Regions from separate parts of the Homo sapiens genome. Here all the other regions are linked to region 2. The links are contacts of gene promoters, found by promoter capture Hi-C in blood cells and fetal thymus (Javierre and others, 2016). All regions are on one chromosome and are shown on one strand. Each heading gives the region's core, a stretch centred on a gene start or on the middle of the fragment in contact. The rest is flanking DNA. Distances are from core to core; before and after follow the strand shown. Region 1 overlaps PLCD3 (phospholipase C delta 3). Region 2 holds the start of GFAP (glial fibrillary acidic protein). Region 3 overlaps HEXIM1 (HEXIM P-TEFb complex subunit 1). Region 4 overlaps ADAM11 (ADAM metallopeptidase domain 11). Region 5 holds the start of NMT1 (N-myristoyltransferase 1).

What was found. The method cuts DNA at HindIII sites, captures the fragments that hold promoters and counts their contacts. A CHiCAGO score of 5 or more calls a contact.
Region 1: a contact is called between a fragment that was not itself captured here and the fragment with the promoter of GFAP in region 2, in 10 of 17 cell types (endothelial precursors, megakaryocytes, erythroblasts and 7 more). The highest score is 14.2, in endothelial precursors.
Region 3: a contact is called between a fragment that was not itself captured here and the fragment with the promoter of GFAP in region 2, in 3 of 17 cell types (endothelial precursors, monocytes and megakaryocytes). The highest score is 6.9, in endothelial precursors.
Region 4: a fragment that was not itself captured here is called in contact with the fragment with the promoter of GFAP in region 2 in 1 of 17 cell types (endothelial precursors); the score reaches 5.9 in endothelial precursors.
Region 5: the fragment with the promoter of NMT1 here is called in contact with the fragment with the promoter of GFAP in region 2 in 1 of 17 cell types (endothelial precursors); the score reaches 5.1 in endothelial precursors.

What each region holds. Positions count from the first base shown.
Region 1 is chr17:45,120,172-45,123,680 of GRCh38, reverse strand. PLCD3 (phospholipase C delta 3) reads left to right here. Exons shown (of 15, transcript NM_133373.5): 2 at 2,309-2,470; 3 at 2,551-2,779; 4 at 3,227-3,356. Among named protein-coding and RNA genes, the nearest start is that of MIR6784, 7.5 kb to the right of the region's middle. RefSeq lists an enhancer at 2,375-2,912. The HindIII fragment of the contact is 925 bases long and covers 1,260-2,184 here.
Region 2 is chr17:44,914,250-44,917,709 of GRCh38, reverse strand. It overlaps GFAP (glial fibrillary acidic protein), which reads left to right and starts at 2,210. Exons shown (of 9, transcript NM_002055.5): 1 at 2,210-2,684. The coding sequence starts at 2,224. The HindIII fragment of the contact is 16,653 bases long and covers 1-3,460 here.
Region 3 is chr17:45,148,618-45,152,120 of GRCh38, reverse strand. It overlaps HEXIM1 (HEXIM P-TEFb complex subunit 1), which reads right to left. Exons shown (of 1, transcript NM_006460.3): 1 at 22-3,503. The coding sequence starts at 2,930. The coding sequence ends at 1,851. HEXIM2-AS1 (HEXIM2 antisense RNA 1) reads left to right here. Exons shown (of 3, transcript NR_186789.1): 3 at 1,202-2,459. Among named protein-coding and RNA genes, the nearest start is that of HEXIM1, 1.9 kb to the right of the region's middle. RefSeq lists enhancers at 2,258-2,317, 1,988-2,543, 2,948-3,057, 3,108-3,157, 3,208-3,257. The HindIII fragment of the contact is 2,947 bases long and covers 737-3,503 here.
Region 4 is chr17:44,773,577-44,776,750 of GRCh38, reverse strand. It overlaps ADAM11 (ADAM metallopeptidase domain 11), which reads right to left. Exons shown (of 27, transcript NM_002390.6): 12 at 2,372-2,456; 13 at 2,169-2,259; 14 at 2,002-2,053; 15 at 1,440-1,539; 16 at 1,286-1,357; 17 at 1,075-1,167; 18 at 544-624; 19 at 1-6. Among named protein-coding and RNA genes, the nearest start is that of ADAM11, 16 kb to the right of the region's middle. RefSeq lists an enhancer at 203-703 and a silencer at 541-860. The HindIII fragment of the contact is 6,017 bases long and covers 1-3,174 here.
Region 5 is chr17:45,059,756-45,062,881 of GRCh38, reverse strand. NMT1 (N-myristoyltransferase 1) reads right to left here and starts at 1,565. Exons shown (of 12, transcript NM_021079.5): 1 at 1,422-1,565. The coding sequence starts at 1,552. It also overlaps a transcript of DCAKD not described here. RefSeq lists enhancers at 1,125-1,204, 1,147-1,441, 1,295-1,654, 802-1,793, 1,755-1,934 and 1 more. The HindIII fragment of the contact is 9,198 bases long and covers 1-3,126 here.

The DNA.
Region 1 (3,509 bases), core at 473-2,972, 210 kb before region 2:
GCCCCATCCCACACCAGCTGGGTGAGATGCCCTGGGCTGTGGTGTCTGCAGCCTCCCCTGGGTAATTCCGATGCACAGCTAAGGTTGAGAAACCCTGACCTGCGAGGCCTCTGCCCTGCGAGGCCTCTGTCCTGAACTCTGGACAGATGGGGCAGAGCTGGGGATAGAATTCACTTAGTCCCCCCATCTGTCCGTCTACCTGTCTGCCCCTTCAGTCAACACTAGCTGGTATCCTGGCTCTGGGATGAGCACTGTGGTGAGGAGATAAGACCTCATTCCGCCCTCAGATTTATTAAAGTATATAGGTGGGTTTTGTGTTTTATTTTAATTAAAGCAAAAAGTGCTGTTAGTGGTCAGAGAGGGAGAATGTCCACTTGAGGACAAATCAAGGAAGGGTTCCTGGAGGAGGTGATATCTGAACTGGTCCTTCAAGGACTCAGATAGGAGGAAGAGAAGGGAGAAGGATCCTACAAAAGGGTCCAAGAGAGGGTGAGAGGAGATGGTCCAGAGATATAGACTCAATTCCTTAGGTCAGAATTTGCAATTGGGCAAGCCAGGGCCTTGGGGTCACAAAGCCAAACCCAGTATTAGGGGCTTGTCGAAATAAAGGGAGGAAGAGAGGCCCTCTGTCTTACTTCTTTTGGCCCACACAGGGGTTATTGATTTTTATTTTTTTTCAATTTGATTTCGTTGTCAACATTAGAATATCTGGAGGCTTCACACACAGATCTATATTCGGTTCTCTGGAAACTCTGGGCCCTCATTCACTCCGGGCTGTGCCCCACCTCCAAAGGCCATGGACTCTCCGTTTACCCAGTTCCCACCTCCTCTATTGTCCTCTGACTCAAAAATCTTTGGTTGTGACTCTCGTTGAGGCATTGTAGAGCAGGGTGTGGCACTGTTTGGGCTGGGCATCACGTGTTCCAGGGGGCCAGAGCCAGGAGAGGGCCGAAACTCTCCGGGGCACAGTGTCGGTCACGCTGTAGAAACCTCTGAATTTTGGATTTTGCAGCAGGTATGATTGTGGTCTCCATTTTATGGATGGAGAACATGAGGCTTAGTGACAGGTTAGTGCCACTGGGGCCATGTATTAAATAACTGGGAAGTGACAGTGTTGAGACTTACTCCCCAGACTTCGGAATTTAGAAGCACTAGAAGAGCCGTGCAGTGCAGGGCCAAAGGTCAGAGGCGCTGGACCCCGACCTCCAGAGCCCAAAGTGGCTTCTACCAGTATGGAATTCTGACAACTTACTTAAGCTTCCCTGAGCCTCAGTTTCCTTGTCTATTAGTACATGAGCAGGGCCTGCACACAGGAGATGCTTTTATTTATTTATTTTTTAGAGACAGAGTCTCACTCTGTTGCCCAAGCTGGAGTGCAGTGGCGCAATCTTGGCTCACTGCAACCTCCGCCTCCCGGATTCAAGTGATTCTCATGCCTCAGCCTCCCATGCCTGGAGATCAGCTGGGCAGGGCTGATCCTGGAGTCCTTGGCCTGTGACCCTGGAGCCAGGGTGGCCTCTGCTGTCCTCCTTGTCTTTGGGAAAGCAGAGGCAAGGTGCTTGGGTTACAGCAAGAGAGATCTAGGTTAGATGGTGAGACCTTCCTGATGGCTACGGTTTCACATCAAGGGAAAAAGGCTGTTGGTGGCAAATTCTGGACTTGAAGGCTGGAAGCCATGTGGTGGGGGATAGTGGCAGAAAAGGCAATTTTTTTTTTTTTTTGTTAAGACGCAGTCTCACTCTGTCGCTTAGGCTGCAGTGCAGTGGCACAATCTTGGCTCATGGCAACCTCAGCCTCCTAAGTAGCTGGGATTACAGGCATGTGCCACCACACCCAGCTAATTTTGTATTTTTAGTAGAGGTGGGGTTGCACCATGTTGGCCAGGCTGGTCTCGAACTCCCGACCTCAAGTGATCCACCCACCTCGGCCTCCCAAGTGCTGAGATTATAGGCGTGAGCCACCGCGCCCTGCCAGAAAGGGCAACCTTTAGTGAGGCCTGAGTCCCAGGCATTGTCCGAGGGCAGTTCCACACTGAGGGACTGCAGAGGCCGCTGCTTGGAAGGAAGGAGGGAGATGGGGTACGGGTTGGGGGGCGTTTAGGGCTCCAAAGCCTAAAGCCAAACCCAGTGCAGGAGGCTTCTTACAATCGGGGAGGAGGGGAGTCCTGTGAGGGGGAGGGAAGCTTACTGTGGGATGAAGGCCTGGGTTTGGAGAGGCTGGAGGATGGGGCAGCAGGTCCTAGCGGGGGAGGGCAGGGGAGCCTCTGGGCAGGTACGGCCTGACGCCCCGGGTCCTCCCGCCCCGCCAGGCCTGACGGAGGACGAGGACGTGCGCGCCATGCTGCGGGGCTCCCGGCTCCGCAAGATCCGCTCGCGCACGTGGCACAAGGAGCGGCTGTACCGGCTGCAGGAGGACGGCCTGAGCGTGTGGTTCCAGCGGCGCATCCCGCGTGCGCCATCGCAGCACATCTGTGAGAGGCCGGGGAGCGCCGGGCGGACAGGGAGGTGGGGACAGGCCCGGTCCTCCGCCCTGACCCGGCCCTCCTCTCAGTCTTCGTGCAGCACATCGAGGCGGTCCGCGAGGGCCACCAGTCCGAGGGCCTGCGGCGCTTCGGGGGTGCCTTCGCGCCAGCGCGCTGCCTCACCATCGCCTTCAAGGGCCGCCGCAAGAACCTGGACCTGGCGGCGCCCACGGCTGAGGAAGCGCAGCGCTGGGTGCGCGGTCTGACCAAGCTCCGCGCGCGCCTGGACGCCATGAGCCAGCGCGAGCGGCTAGACCAATATCCTGCCGGGGCTGGGAGGGAGGGCCCCATCCTTGGAGAGCCCTAACCTTGGAGAGCCCCATCCTTGGAGAGCCCCCACGCCCAGGGAAGGCAGGGCCCTGTCCTGAGGGCGCACGGTCTGGGTCGGAGCCCTTGGTCTTCGAAACTGAGGGTGGGGACACGCGCCCTGGCTAGGCCCAAGCTCCCACCAGGAGGGGTGGCGCGGCGCCTCCTTCAGGGAGGCCTGAGGCCTTCTGAGGGTGAAGACAGGGCCTCCTGTCTTTGGTAAGCCCCAGTCCTGCGGAGGAGACACTGCTACCGTGCTCGGGGAGTGCACAGGCCAAGGGGAAAGTACAGCCCCTAAACTGGGGATCCCCCAGACCCAGGTGGGGGTGACTTACCAGCCAGTTACCTGAGGGCTGGGGGCAGCCTGGCGTGTTGCTGTTATTTCCTGAGCACCCACACCTGGATCCACTCCTATCTGCACCGGGCTGACTCCAACCAGGACAGCAAGATGAGCTTCAAGGAGATCAAGAGCCTGCTGAGAATGGTCAACGTGGACATGAACGACATGTACGCCTACCTCCTCTTCAAGGTGGGCTTCCGCCCTGAACCCCAGCCCCTGGCTCTGCCATCACTCTGACCTCTGCCTGCCCCCAGCCATCTGAATCATCAGCTCCCCTGCCCTCTCCACCTGCAGCTTTTTTGGAGCGAGCAGCCTTTCCCTGCACAAAGGCAACATCTGGGG
Region 2 (3,460 bases), core at 961-3,460:
TCCTATGTCACTGCTTACGCCCAGGTCAGATGTGACTAGAGCCTAAGGAGCTCCCACCTCCCTCTCTGTGCTGGGACTCACAGAGGGAGACCTCAGGAGGCAGTCTGTCCATCACATGTCCAAATGCAGAGCATACCCTGGGCTGGGCGCAGTGGCGCACAACTGTAATTCCAGCACTTTGGGAGGCTGATGTGGAAGGATCACTTGAGCCCAGAAGTTCTAGACCAGCCTGGGCAACATGGCAAGACCCTATCTCTACAAAAAAAGTTAAAAAATCAGCCACGTGTGGTGACACACACCTGTAGTCCCAGCTATTCAGGAGGCTGAGGTGAGGGGATCACTTAAGGCTGGGAGGTTGAGGCTGCAGTGAGTCGTGGTTGCGCCACTGCACTCCAGCCTGGGCAACAGTGAGACCCTGTCTCAAAAGACAAAAAAAAAAAAAAAAAAAAAAAGAACATATCCTGGTGTGGAGTAGGGGACGCTGCTCTGACAGAGGCTCGGGGGCCTGAGCTGGCTCTGTGAGCTGGGGAGGAGGCAGACAGCCAGGCCTTGTCTGCAAGCAGACCTGGCAGCATTGGGCTGGCCGCCCCCCAGGGCCTCCTCTTCATGCCCAGTGAATGACTCACCTTGGCACAGACACAATGTTCGGGGTGGGCACAGTGCCTGCTTCCCGCCGCACCCCAGCCCCCCTCAAATGCCTTCCGAGAAGCCCATTGAGCAGGGGGCTTGCATTGCACCCCAGCCTGACAGCCTGGCATCTTGGGATAAAAGCAGCACAGCCCCCTAGGGGCTGCCCTTGCTGTGTGGCGCCACCGGCGGTGGAGAACAAGGCTCTATTCAGCCTGTGCCCAGGAAAGGGGATCAGGGGATGCCCAGGCATGGACAGTGGGTGGCAGGGGGGGAGAGGAGGGCTGTCTGCTTCCCAGAAGTCCAAGGACACAAATGGGTGAGGGGACTGGGCAGGGTTCTGACCCTGTGGGACCAGAGTGGAGGGCGTAGATGGACCTGAAGTCTCCAGGGACAACAGGGCCCAGGTCTCAGGCTCCTAGTTGGGCCCAGTGGCTCCAGCGTTTCCAAACCCATCCATCCCCAGAGGTTCTTCCCATCTCTCCAGGCTGATGTGTGGGAACTCGAGGAAATAAATCTCCAGTGGGAGACGGAGGGGTGGCCAGGGAAACGGGGCGCTGCAGGAATAAAGACGAGCCAGCACAGCCAGCTCATGTGTAACGGCTTTGTGGAGCTGTCAAGGCCTGGTCTCTGGGAGAGAGGCACAGGGAGGCCAGACAAGGAAGGGGTGACCTGGAGGGACAGATCCAGGGGCTAAAGTCCTGATAAGGCAAGAGAGTGCCGGCCCCCTCTTGCCCTATCAGGACCTCCACTGCCACATAGAGGCCATGATTGACCCTTAGACAAAGGGCTGGTGTCCAATCCCAGCCCCCAGCCCCAGAACTCCAGGGAATGAATGGGCAGAGAGCAGGAATGTGGGACATCTGTGTTCAAGGGAAGGACTCCAGGAGTCTGCTGGGAATGAGGCCTAGTAGGAAATGAGGTGGCCCTTGAGGGTACAGAACAGGTTCATTCTTCGCCAAATTCCCAGCACCTTGCAGGCACTTACAGCTGAGTGAGATAATGCCTGGGTTATGAAATCAAAAAGTTGGAAAGCAGGTCAGAGGTCATCTGGTACAGCCCTTCCTTCCCTTTTTTTTTTTTTTTTTTGTGAGACAAGGTCTCTCTCTGTTGCCCAGGCTGGAGTGGCGCAAACACAGCTCACTGCAGCCTCAACCTACTGGGCTCAAGCAATCCTCCAGCCTCAGCCTCCCAAAGTGCTGGGATTACAAGCATGAGCCACCCCACTCAGCCCTTTCCTTCCTTTTTAATTGATGCATAATAATTGTAAGTATTCATCATGGTCCAACCAACCCTTTCTTGACCCACCTTCCTAGAGAGAGGGTCCTCTTGCTTCAGCGGTCAGGGCCCCAGACCCATGGTCTGGCTCCAGGTACCACCTGCCTCATGCAGGAGTTGGCGTGCCCAGGAAGCTCTGCCTCTGGGCACAGTGACCTCAGTGGGGTGAGGGGAGCTCTCCCCATAGCTGGGCTGCGGCCCAACCCCACCCCCTCAGGCTATGCCAGGGGGTGTTGCCAGGGGCACCCGGGCATCGCCAGTCTAGCCCACTCCTTCATAAAGCCCTCGCATCCCAGGAGCGAGCAGAGCCAGAGCAGGATGGAGAGGAGACGCATCACCTCCGCTGCTCGCCGCTCCTACGTCTCCTCAGGGGAGATGATGGTGGGGGGCCTGGCTCCTGGCCGCCGTCTGGGTCCTGGCACCCGCCTCTCCCTGGCTCGAATGCCCCCTCCACTCCCGACCCGGGTGGATTTCTCCCTGGCTGGGGCACTCAATGCTGGCTTCAAGGAGACCCGGGCCAGTGAGCGGGCAGAGATGATGGAGCTCAATGACCGCTTTGCCAGCTACATCGAGAAGGTTCGCTTCCTGGAACAGCAAAACAAGGCGCTGGCTGCTGAGCTGAACCAGCTGCGGGCCAAGGAGCCCACCAAGCTGGCAGACGTCTACCAGGCTGAGCTGCGAGAGCTGCGGCTGCGGCTCGATCAACTCACCGCCAACAGCGCCCGGCTGGAGGTTGAGAGGGACAATCTGGCACAGGACCTGGCCACTGTGAGGCAGAAGTGAGGAGGGGATGGGGAAGGGGGGCCTTGTGAGCAGAAGGGGCTGAATCCCCAAGAAGGAGTGCCCGAGAAGTCTCAGGGAGGGGCCGAACCTCCCTGCTCCCTGGGCCTCCCTACCTCTTGATGGGGCACTATCCTTGCCCCCCAACATGATGGGAGGGACCAGAAACAGGCCCAGGGCCCCGGGGATCTGATGCCCGCATGCCTTCTGCCAGGAGTCCAGGGTCCCCTCAGCACCTCCCTACTGGGGAAAGCAGTGCAGGAGCAGCGGGGCCCCTGTGTTTCATTCATGGCTGGGCTTTGTGACTGTGGGCAGCGAGCTCACCTATTCTGAGCCTGTGTCCATATAAAGGAGGAGTTGGAAGCGGAGAAGGTTGATGTCCATGAGGGAGATTGGATTCTGGGGTGAAGAAAGTGAGGGAAAGAGCAGGCAGGTCTGGGCGCAAAGCACAGGTGACTGCCTGCCACCAGCTTGTGACCCCCATCAAGTTACTTTGACTTGCACAGCTGTGAAGCGGTGGTCATAATAAAATTCATTTCAAAAGGTGGTTACCTGGGATCAGAGGAATCCCCAGGGGCATGGCGCTTCACTGAGCTGACAGGACATGCATGTGTGCCTTCAAGTGCAGGAGGACATGTGCGTGTGTGTGTGTGTGTGTGCAACAGTGAGTGTATGCTTGTGGATGCGCCTGTGTGAGCAGAAGCAGGTGCACCAACCCTGATAAGGCACCTTAGTAATGAGTTAAGGCAAAAGCCCACATCTGCTCATCCTCCAG
Region 3 (3,503 bases), core at 961-3,460, 230 kb before region 2:
AAAAAAACACGAAGAAAACTATTTCAAAATAAATGTTTAATATAATTTTTAGACCAAAGAAAAACTCAATCATACATTGTCTCCAGTGGACCATATGTGCCAGAACAGGACCAACTCAGTCCAGCTTTGAAGGCCCTGATTCAGTCCTACTGGTATAATCTCCCTTGATTTATTGATTTGTGTATGCTTCTTATGCAATACAAGGTGCATTTTACTCTTGAAGTCCCTATCACCTCCACCATCGCCATTTAACTGCAAAAGCATGCTTCCTAATGGGAGGGTTTTCTTCCCCCTTCCCTGCAGAGGTTCTGAACCTTCAAGGAGTTTGACAATCTTATGAATCTCTTGAACCTTCTCCCCAGAAAAATGTACATACAAGTCTACAAATAATTTCATGGGGTTCATGGACCCCAAGGCCCACAATGGTTTCTAAGGCCCCAAATTAAGGAACCTCTGTGCTAGTGATTTGAGCAACGCAATTGCCCTCAGAAGACACTGACACAGGGCAGGTGAAGGACTGGGTTAACCAAAATGACAGGAGGCAATCTCATAATTTCTGTTTTTATTTTGGGGCAAAATTTAGTTCTCAGGGCCTCCCTACGTTTAAGAGCAGAACTACTCAAGAACCTAAGCAGCTATCAGCATAGTTTAAGCGATTTAGAATAGGGCTGTGCAAGGGGATGTACAGGGTTCCTCATTCAGCTGAGGACCTCATTTAGCTCCTTAACTGGAAGCTTTACATTTGATCTGCAGTGAGGGGACATTTCTAATTTTAGTTTGACCCACATGGAAAGGTGGATAGCTTTTTTTTTTTGTTTTGGTATAGAGAGCACGTAGAATTGGACAATTAGGTAAATCCTTGGAATCCCCCAAACAGCCATTTGCTTTATAAATCCAGTATTTCTTACCTCTGAACGTCTTAAAGAGCTGCCTCACAAATTAATCTAACCATTGCTTGCACTAAGAAGTTTGCCAAGAGCCTCTTCCAGCCTTACTGGGGGGAAGGAAGAGATTACTGAAAACCAACTTGTAGGAATGAAATGAGGCTGTCAGTTGTCTAACCTAACAAACTGCCAAATTAGGTTTACATTTTTTGTTATTAGACTTTTGAATGGCCGAGGCAGAGTTAAATTTAAAATTTTGGATTGTAGCCACTTTCCACTCGCCTAAACACTCAATACCGGTTTGTTTATTTTTCCAGCATCAAGAAAGAAAACCAAGGCACTAGAAAGCAAGCACACTTAAGTATTGAAGATAATTACATCTTAAATTTTGCCTGAACTGTATATTGTAGCATACTTAAACCCATTCAAGGAAAAAATTGGCAAATTGAAAATTCTCCCATTAAAGATTGATATTTTTGCAAACTGACAAATTTAACGATTTCGGTACCCCTCCCCAAAAATGCAGTCACATAAAATATATCAATACTATTTTGAATTAGCTCTAGAAATCACACTGAAACTATGTTACATTTACAAATATTAAATTTATTATAACTAAAATGAATTTAATTGTTCTCAGATTTGGCCACCTTATAGCTCCGTTTAAGGAGGGGATTTGTTAAAAACAAAAATGCATTATAACTTGGTCAAATTACTTTCACATTAAGGAAAAAAACTTCTAAAAAGGAAAACAAGAAAAGCAACTCTTCAGTTTCACATAATTAAAAGAACAGGAGAAAGCACGCAAGCTACATATAGCTAAATTTACGAAACCAAAGCCAGGGGGATTTCTCTTCTGATTATGTGTCATAAAAAGGTCCACTGTCTTATATACACATGTATATAATGTTACATTCCATCACTGTAAAAAGTCCCCTTTGCCCCCTCCCCCAAAAAAGTTTCAGTCTAGTCTCCAAACTTGGAAAGCGGCGCTCGCTCCTGCTGCCGGTGCAGTTCGTTCTCGGTCAGCAGCTGGAGGTTCTCGGCGCGCAGCCGGTCCAGCTCCAGCTCCAGCTCCCGCACACGCGCGTCGTCGCCACCCAGCCGCTTGCTCTCCAGCCGCAGCCGGTTGTTCTCGTCCTCCATGCGCGAGAGGCACTTCTCCAGTTCCAGGTACTCCTTGATGAGCTCCTGCTTGCTCATGTTCTGCAGGCTCTCCGTGTGGTACCGCTCGTACGTCTCCGAGAAGTCCCGCTGCAGAAACTCGCTGCCGTCCCCTCCCATCCCATCGCTGCCCCCATCCTCCTCACCCCCTTCTTCCATGAAGTCGTCATCGCTGGTGTCGTCGGATTTGGCGGCGGCCCGCTTGGAGTACAGGCCGGTTTTGAGATCCGGCTCCTCCTGGTCGTGATCATCCATGAGGAACTGCGTGGTGTTATAGGGCGCGACCGGCTGGCCCTTGGCGAACATCTCGGCTCGGATCCTTGAAGCTCGAAGGCTCTGTTTCTCGTCGAACTTTTTCTTCTCTTCCCAGGTCAGCTTGTAGTACGGTTTCCAATGCCGCTTCTTCTTGGACGGGCGTCTCCTATGTTTTTTCTTCCCCAGCTGTCTCTGCTGCTGTCCCCACTCCTCTTCGCCCCCTGCGGCAGGAGCCCCCAACTTACTGGCCTCGGAGTCATGACAAGGCTGGGCGAGCAGCTCGGCCTCGGGCGTCGGTTCCACTTCTGCCGGCGGCGGGAAGTCGCCGCCAGCGGACGAGTCGTCCCCATTCTGGCCCTTCTCGCCCTCTCTCAGGCAGCTAGATTCTGGACAGGCCTGGGTCTGCAAGGGAGGTGGTTGGGATTCCAGGCTCCCTTCCCCCTCCGGCCCCGGACGGCCACCCAACTGGGGGAACGCTCTCGATTGCCACCTACTGTCCTCCTCGGGCACCCGCTCCTCCGCGCCTGGGGGGCGCTCAGGGTTCAGCTCTTCCTGGACAGCAGCAGCACCTGTACAGTTGCTAGTTTGAGGCTGGTGTTGATATTCTGACAAGAATGGCTCGGCCATGGCTAGTAGAGTCCTCGAAGTTTAAGAAATTTTGGCTAGTAAGTCCTTAAGGAAAAAAATGGGTTTTTCTTAAAAAAAAGAAAAAGAAAAAAAAAACAGTCCAACAGAGTCCTCTTCAGTTTGTAATTCCTGCAGTGACGCCTTTAGCTAGTCCTTCTATCAGCAAACTCCAACTGCAATCTGGGGAGCTCAAGTCAGTAAAGGGTTAAGCGCCCACAGTGCGGCCAGCTAGCGGGTCCAAGGGGGTGCAGCGGCAGGAACAGTACGTAATGGGCGGAGGTGGGCCTCAAACCTCCAAGCGGAGCACCCCAATAAAGGAGTTGGTGAGCAAGGTGATGAGGGTAAGTCCAGTGCGTGAAACCCAGCCCCGAAGGGGTTAAAACTACCGATGACGCTGCCTCCGAGGGGCCAGATCCACAAAGGGTTAAATCCCCTGCCGCAGAGCCCACAAGGGGTTAAAGTCCCGGCGCCACCTCCTCCCACTTCCACGGGTGTCGCTTCCACCCAAGCTCCCAGTTCCCTAGGCCCGGCCGTAGCCTCAGCAGAGGACAGACAAACTCATCTCCCCTTTGG
Region 4 (3,174 bases), core at 616-3,115, 140 kb after region 2:
CGGGCACTGTGGAGAGAGGGGTGGGGTTGAGCGGAGCAGTCCCAGGACTGGAGCTGAGGGCTGCCCCAGGGAGGAATGCTGGGGTACCAAGTGCCCCCCATTGGGGGCTCATGCCACAGGGCTCTTCCACGCCTAGGACAAGCGATCTGTCTGGTTCTGGACCCAGACCACACGGATTTGCAAGCCCCAGAGCCGCTCCAGCCTCCCTCCCTCGTAGGGCTGGGAGATAAATGCCTGGCATGTAATTAGGTTGTAATAGATGTTAACTAATATTATCGTCTACTCTGATCCCTAACCTACACCAGGCACCGGGCCAGGCGCTGGGAATACCAGCCAGACGATACATTCTGGTTTAATGATTGAAGGAACAAGGCCAGGAGCATGAAGAACCCCTTTCTCAGATAAGAAAACAGTCTGATCAGTGGAGGTCGATGCCAGCTGTGGAGAGGAGGGGAGTGCTGAGCACTCGTCCGGGAAAACCAAATCGACAAGGGTAGGGGTTGCCTCGCCCAGGGCTCCACAAGACGGCGGGGCCGGGCGGACCTGGCTAGAGTCCCCGGTGCAGGTCTCCGCGATGTCGCACTCGTTCACGGCCTCTCGGCAGGACACACCCCGTGGTTCGTACTAGGGAAGAGACGCGCTCCTCGAGTCAGGCAGGATGGATGCCTCGGCCCTGCCCTCCCCAGGCCCCTCGCTCTCTGGACCCCCACATCCCCGGGCCCTCCAGCTCCCCAGGGCCCCGTTTCAGGCCTGTTCTTATTTCCCTGCTCCCACCACCTCTTGAACGCTCCCCACCTCGCTCCCAGCGCACTCAGCACCGCCCCCAAGCCCGCCCACCTTCCCGCCCCTCCTTGATTCTGGGCAGCCTTCCCTTCCCGCTCCTCGTAGCCCCGCCTTCAACATCCTTCAGCCCCGCCCCTTGCTCCCCATTGGCGCTGTCTTCGCATCAAGCCCTGCCCCAGAGGCCTTCGTCCCCGAAGGCTCCGCTTCCCTCCCTAGCTCCCACCCCTTATATGAAGGCCTCCAATCGCTCCTCCTGCGTCCTGGCCCCGCCTCCCGGCCGGTCCTGCTTACCTTGCAGCGGCGACAGCAGAGCCCGTCGCTGCACATGGCGTCGTGAGTCAGGGTGCATTTCTTGCAGCAGTTGCCACCTGCGCGGCTGCACTCCTGAGGGACGCGGGAGGAGGGGAAGGAGGCGGGCGAGCCCTAATCCTCCCACTCAGACGCTCCCTCGTGCCCACCCCCGCATCCCGGTTCCCCACCTGGCGCCCGCACCACCGCTCACCTGCACCGAGCCGCAGTCGCACTCCTCCCCTGCCTCCACGAAGCCGTTCCCGCACTCTGGGGGGTCCAGGAGCTGGACCGGGAGGACAGGTCGGGAGTCTGGCCCGGACCCCGCCCAGGGCCCGCTCCCATGCTCCCCGCCGCGGGGCTGGTACCTTGAGGGGCTTGTTGAAGAGGCAGCTGCCACCACCCTCCTGCAGAAACTGGTTGTACTCGTCGATGCTACAGCGCGAGAACTTGCGGGGCAGGTAGAACCTGGATAGGGCGAGGGGAGGTGCTGCTGGCTGCTCCCCTCCAACCCACCCTCACCCCTCTCAAGGCTGGGGAGGGGGTACACTGGGGGACTTCGTCACCATCGCGAGGAGGCGGAGGATCTGCCCCGGGATTGCACCAGAATCCTCCCGCCTGTCCCTGTCGCTCCCATCCCCTCCGCTGAACCTGGGGACTCGCAGCCGCGCTGGAGGGAAGGTGTCTCCATGCGAGGCTTGGGCGGCGCCCAGTGGCCACGATGCGCACTGCAGCCTGGCCGGTTTTGGTGTCCCAGCAGGGAAATCTGGGTCTCCCGGGGCAGTGTTTGCGGAAAACTGGGCTTCTTGGGATCCTGAGTGGTTCTGTGAGCTGGGCCTCTTGAGCCCCCTGGTCCAGACTGCCAAACAATGCTCGCTCTAAGACTCCCCTCGCCCAAGACCTTCCCCCGGTTTGTCCCCAAGAACTCACCCAGTGTCCTCCATGATGCAGCCCAGCCAGATGTCTGGACACTTGCAGTCCCCTGAGGGGTGAGCCAGGCGGATATGAGGGAGGCCAAGGACCACCCCTCCCACTGTCACCCTCCCGTTCCAGAGCTGCTGGGCGTGGGCCACACGGGGGCCTCTGGGGGAGGATACCTGCCGAGCTCCGGTGTTTGTTCCACATCATGCCCAGGTTCTGTCCCAGCGTCTGGGCAAGGGTCACGGCCATCGCCCCCATGTTGCCGTACTGGGGGTGGGGAAGATGGGGCACAGATGTCTACATCTTCCAACAGGCACGTCGTGCCCCTGAAGCCCCTTTCCCTCAGCCGCCACCCCAGCCATGTCCCCCCACTGCTCACCTCGTTCACACCCCCGCCGTGGGACAGGGAGCATATGCCCCCCACGTAGGCTGCCCCGCTGCTCGTGCTCTGGAAGGTCCTGCCCCTGGAAGGGAGTGCGCTGTCAGGATGGCCTCCTGCCCTCCCCTGTGGCTCCCCGGGTGGTGGTGGGGCCTTGGGGAGCCCCTCACACTAGAGTCCTTCCTCAGGAGGTGAGCCTGGCCCTTTACATCAGCCTTGGTGACCCCAGGCAAGACCCTTCCCCCCCTCCTTGGGTTCTTTTTTTTCTTTCTTTTTCTTTTTTCTTTTGAGACAGAGTTTCACTCTTGTGGTCCAGGTTGGAGTGCAGTGGCACCATCTCAGCTCACTGCAATCTCCACCTCCTGGGTTCAAACGATTCTCCTGCCTCAGCCTCCCGAGTAGCTGGGACTACAGGTGCACACCACCACGCCTGGCTAATTTTTGTATTTTGAGATGGGGTTTCACCATGTTGGCCAGGCTGGTCTTAAACTCGTAACCTGAAATGATCTACCCGCCTTGGCCTCCCAAAGTGCTGAGATTACAGGCATGAGCCACCACGCCTGGCCCCTCCTTGGGTTCTTTTGCCCATAAGGCAAAGGAGAGGCTCCCAGTAGACCATCTCTAGTTGCAAGGCCCTTTTATTAGATTTTTTTCCCTACTAGGGCACTGGGTCCCTGAGGAAGGGATGCTGGGACAGTTTGAAAGGGGAAAGACAGAACTAAGGGGAGGTGAGAGGCAGAAGAGGACCACCAGGGCTAAGACAAGGGCATCAACCTCAGATTCAGGGGATGATGCCCAGCTGT
Region 5 (3,126 bases), core at 316-2,815, 150 kb before region 2:
ACCTAAGATTTACCACAAGCAGATTATAAACCACTTAAATACAGTCATGCTTCACTGAACGTCAGGCATATGTGCTGGGAAATGCATGGTTAGGTGATTTTTGCCTTGCCAACATTATAGGGTGTACTTACACAAATCTAGATGGTATAGCCTACTAAATGCCTAGGCTATATGGTGTACATTACAGTAACATGCTATACAGGTTTGTAGCCTAGGAGCAATAGGCTGCTGCATGTTACTGAGTACTGCAGGCAACTATAATACAATGGTAAGTATTTGTGTATCTAAGCATACCTAAACATAGAAAGGATACAATAAAAATATGTACTATAATCTTGTGGGACCATCTCTTCTACGCAGTCCTTGGTCTTTATACCTTTATATCTGCACTGCCACCAATACTGCGAATAACAAGCTGGCTACGAAAATCAGACTACCTCAGACTCAGCAAGTTATACACCCAAAAATCTCTCACGACTTTCAGTTTAAAAATATATCTACAAATATAGACAGGAAGATGGGGAGAGACAGCGTGAGTGCCAGTGCCAGGCACTAACCATGTGAAGAAAGATGAATAAGCTGTGGCTTACAGAAGTAAAAACTAATTTGGGAAAAGAATTCAACATTCAAATGCCTGGTGTGTTTCTTCATCCCTAGGAACAAATAGTAACTAATGGCAAGACCCTAAAGTACAGGATAGGCAGTATGGAGCCCGAGGATTCCAAATACTCTCCAAGAAACAACATCGCTCATTTCTTGAAGCCTGGGGCTGCTCTGCAAAGGTAACAAGGCAAAGATGTTCGAAGACTTAATTATATTAATATATCGTTCAGGATACTTATGGATTATTTGGAGCAATGGAAACTATGTAAATCAAAGCATTACCATACCGTTAATTACATAGGTTTATAAGGTGAGTTTATATTTTGGGATTCTCTGGTAGTGATATTTTACAATATAATTATACATACAGTTTGTATAGTCTGATGAGTTTCCTCACTGAGGGTGAACTGCTGCGAAATGTTTTATGATTCGTTTATTGCTAGTCACGTTGTTCAAACAACACGTCTATAAGTAACGTTCCCTTTGAACTGTACTGTTACTAGACTGTCCTGTGTTGTACCATCGAAAACCATCGTCCAACATGCTCTTTTCCCAGGAATGGCCTGAAGCACACGAGTGGAACACTGCATAGAACTTTTATATAATAAAAGTACTGAACGTCTCCGGCCCTTAATATCCAGAGCACCCACCCTTGGTAAATGACAAAGGCAATAACCAATCGCCAGGCAGAATCCTAGTGACTTAGCCAATAAGAACATGAGGGTGGGGCTAGACTAAGCTCCCGGTGACTTCCCCGCACCCCAGAGACCCAGGTTGTGGGAGGCTGGACGGGAATTGGACTCCGAGGATTTCGTTACCCCCGGTTGTAGCTGTTGTCCTCCTCATTCTCGCAATCGCTGCAGTGCTCATGGCCGTTCCCGTTCCCTTCCATCATCTGCGGCAGCGGAGGTGCCGGCGGCTTCACTGCTGTCTCACTCTCGTCCGCCATCTTGAGTTGCGAGAGCAGGGCTCCGCGCCCCACTACATGGGGGGTTCCTATTGGACAAGGGGAATTTGCGCTGCATTCTGGGTTTTGTAGTTTTTCTGGCGAAGCGAGCTGCCACTAGGAGCGACTCTTTCCCAGGAAACTGACTACAATACCCAGGAATCACGAGGGACGGCTCCGGTCGGATTAAGAGGCGGGGCCACTGATACCCGGAAGCCTAGGCATTCGGCCACGCTTTGAGGAAAGAAGGGGCGCAAGGTTGGTGGGACCGACCCTTGGGAACCGGGCGGCCGCCTGGCATGATGGGAGTTGTAGTTCGATGCTGGTTTAGGGTTTCAGGCGTGGAGGTTCCAAAATCCGAGGTTTGATTTCAGCCTGCCCTTGCCAGTGCCTGGGCCGCTGGGAGCCGTTATTGGCTGCCGTTAAGGACCGTTACGTTTCCCGGGTAAGTGAAAGGGCCTGAGGCCCGCGGGTGCTACCTGCCTGGAGCCGGAATGCCCCAGGCCTTCTTAGAGTGGGCTTTTCCGCAAGAAGCCTAGTTGACTCCTGGCCGCCTTCCTCACTCGGGAGTCTGGGCAACCTGCGGTCATTGGCAGTTCAAGGTCTCATGAGAGGCAGTGGATTTTTTTGTGCGAAGCACTGACCCTAAGCCAGGAGACCACACTGCTAGGGAGGCAGGGCTCGCCGCCTCATCTTGGCCTCCAGGTACTTATCTTCGCCAAGCTCTTTCGCGCACACGTGGTCCCTTTAATTCCCCACAAGAATTTTCCACAACGACCCTTTTTTTCTTTTCTTTTCTTTCTTTCTTTCTTTTTTCTTTTTTAAATACGGCCGCCTTCTGTCGCCCAGGCTGGAGCGCAATGGCTCAAGATCACAGCTCACTGCAATCAAGGTATCCTCCCACCTCAGCCTCCCAAGTACCTAGGACTATAGGCATGAGCCACCACACCCGGATAATTTATATATTTTTTGTAGAGACGAGGGTCTCGCCTTGTTGCCCAGGCTGGTCTCGAACTCCTGGCCTCTAAGGATCTTCCTACCCCAACCCCGCAAAGTGCTGGGATTACAGACGTGAGCCACGGCACCCAGCCCACATCAACTCTTTCTTTAATAAGTGCCAGACTCTGTAGTAAGGCATTTCGTACATTATCTCATTTAATCCTCTCAACAAGTCTACAATATAGGTCCTATTATTATTATTCAACCTTTGTTTTGTTTTGTTTTGTTTTGAGACGGAGTCTCTCTCTGACTCCCAGGCTGGAGTGCAGTGGTGCGATCTCGGCTCACTGCAACCTTCGCCTCCTGGGTTCAAGCGATTCTCTTGCCTCGGCCTCCTGAGTAGCTGGGATTAAAGGCGCACGCCACCACACCTGGCTAATTTTTGTATTTTTAGTAGAGACGGGGTTTCACCATGTTGGTCAGGCTGGTCTCGAACTCCTGACCTCGTGATCTGCCCATTTCGGCCTCCCAAAGTGCTGGGATTAGAGGTGTGAGCCACCGTACCTGGCCATATTGACCTTTTTGACAGATGAAAAAATGTGGCCCTGAGAGGTTGGTAAATTGCACAGTCACATAGC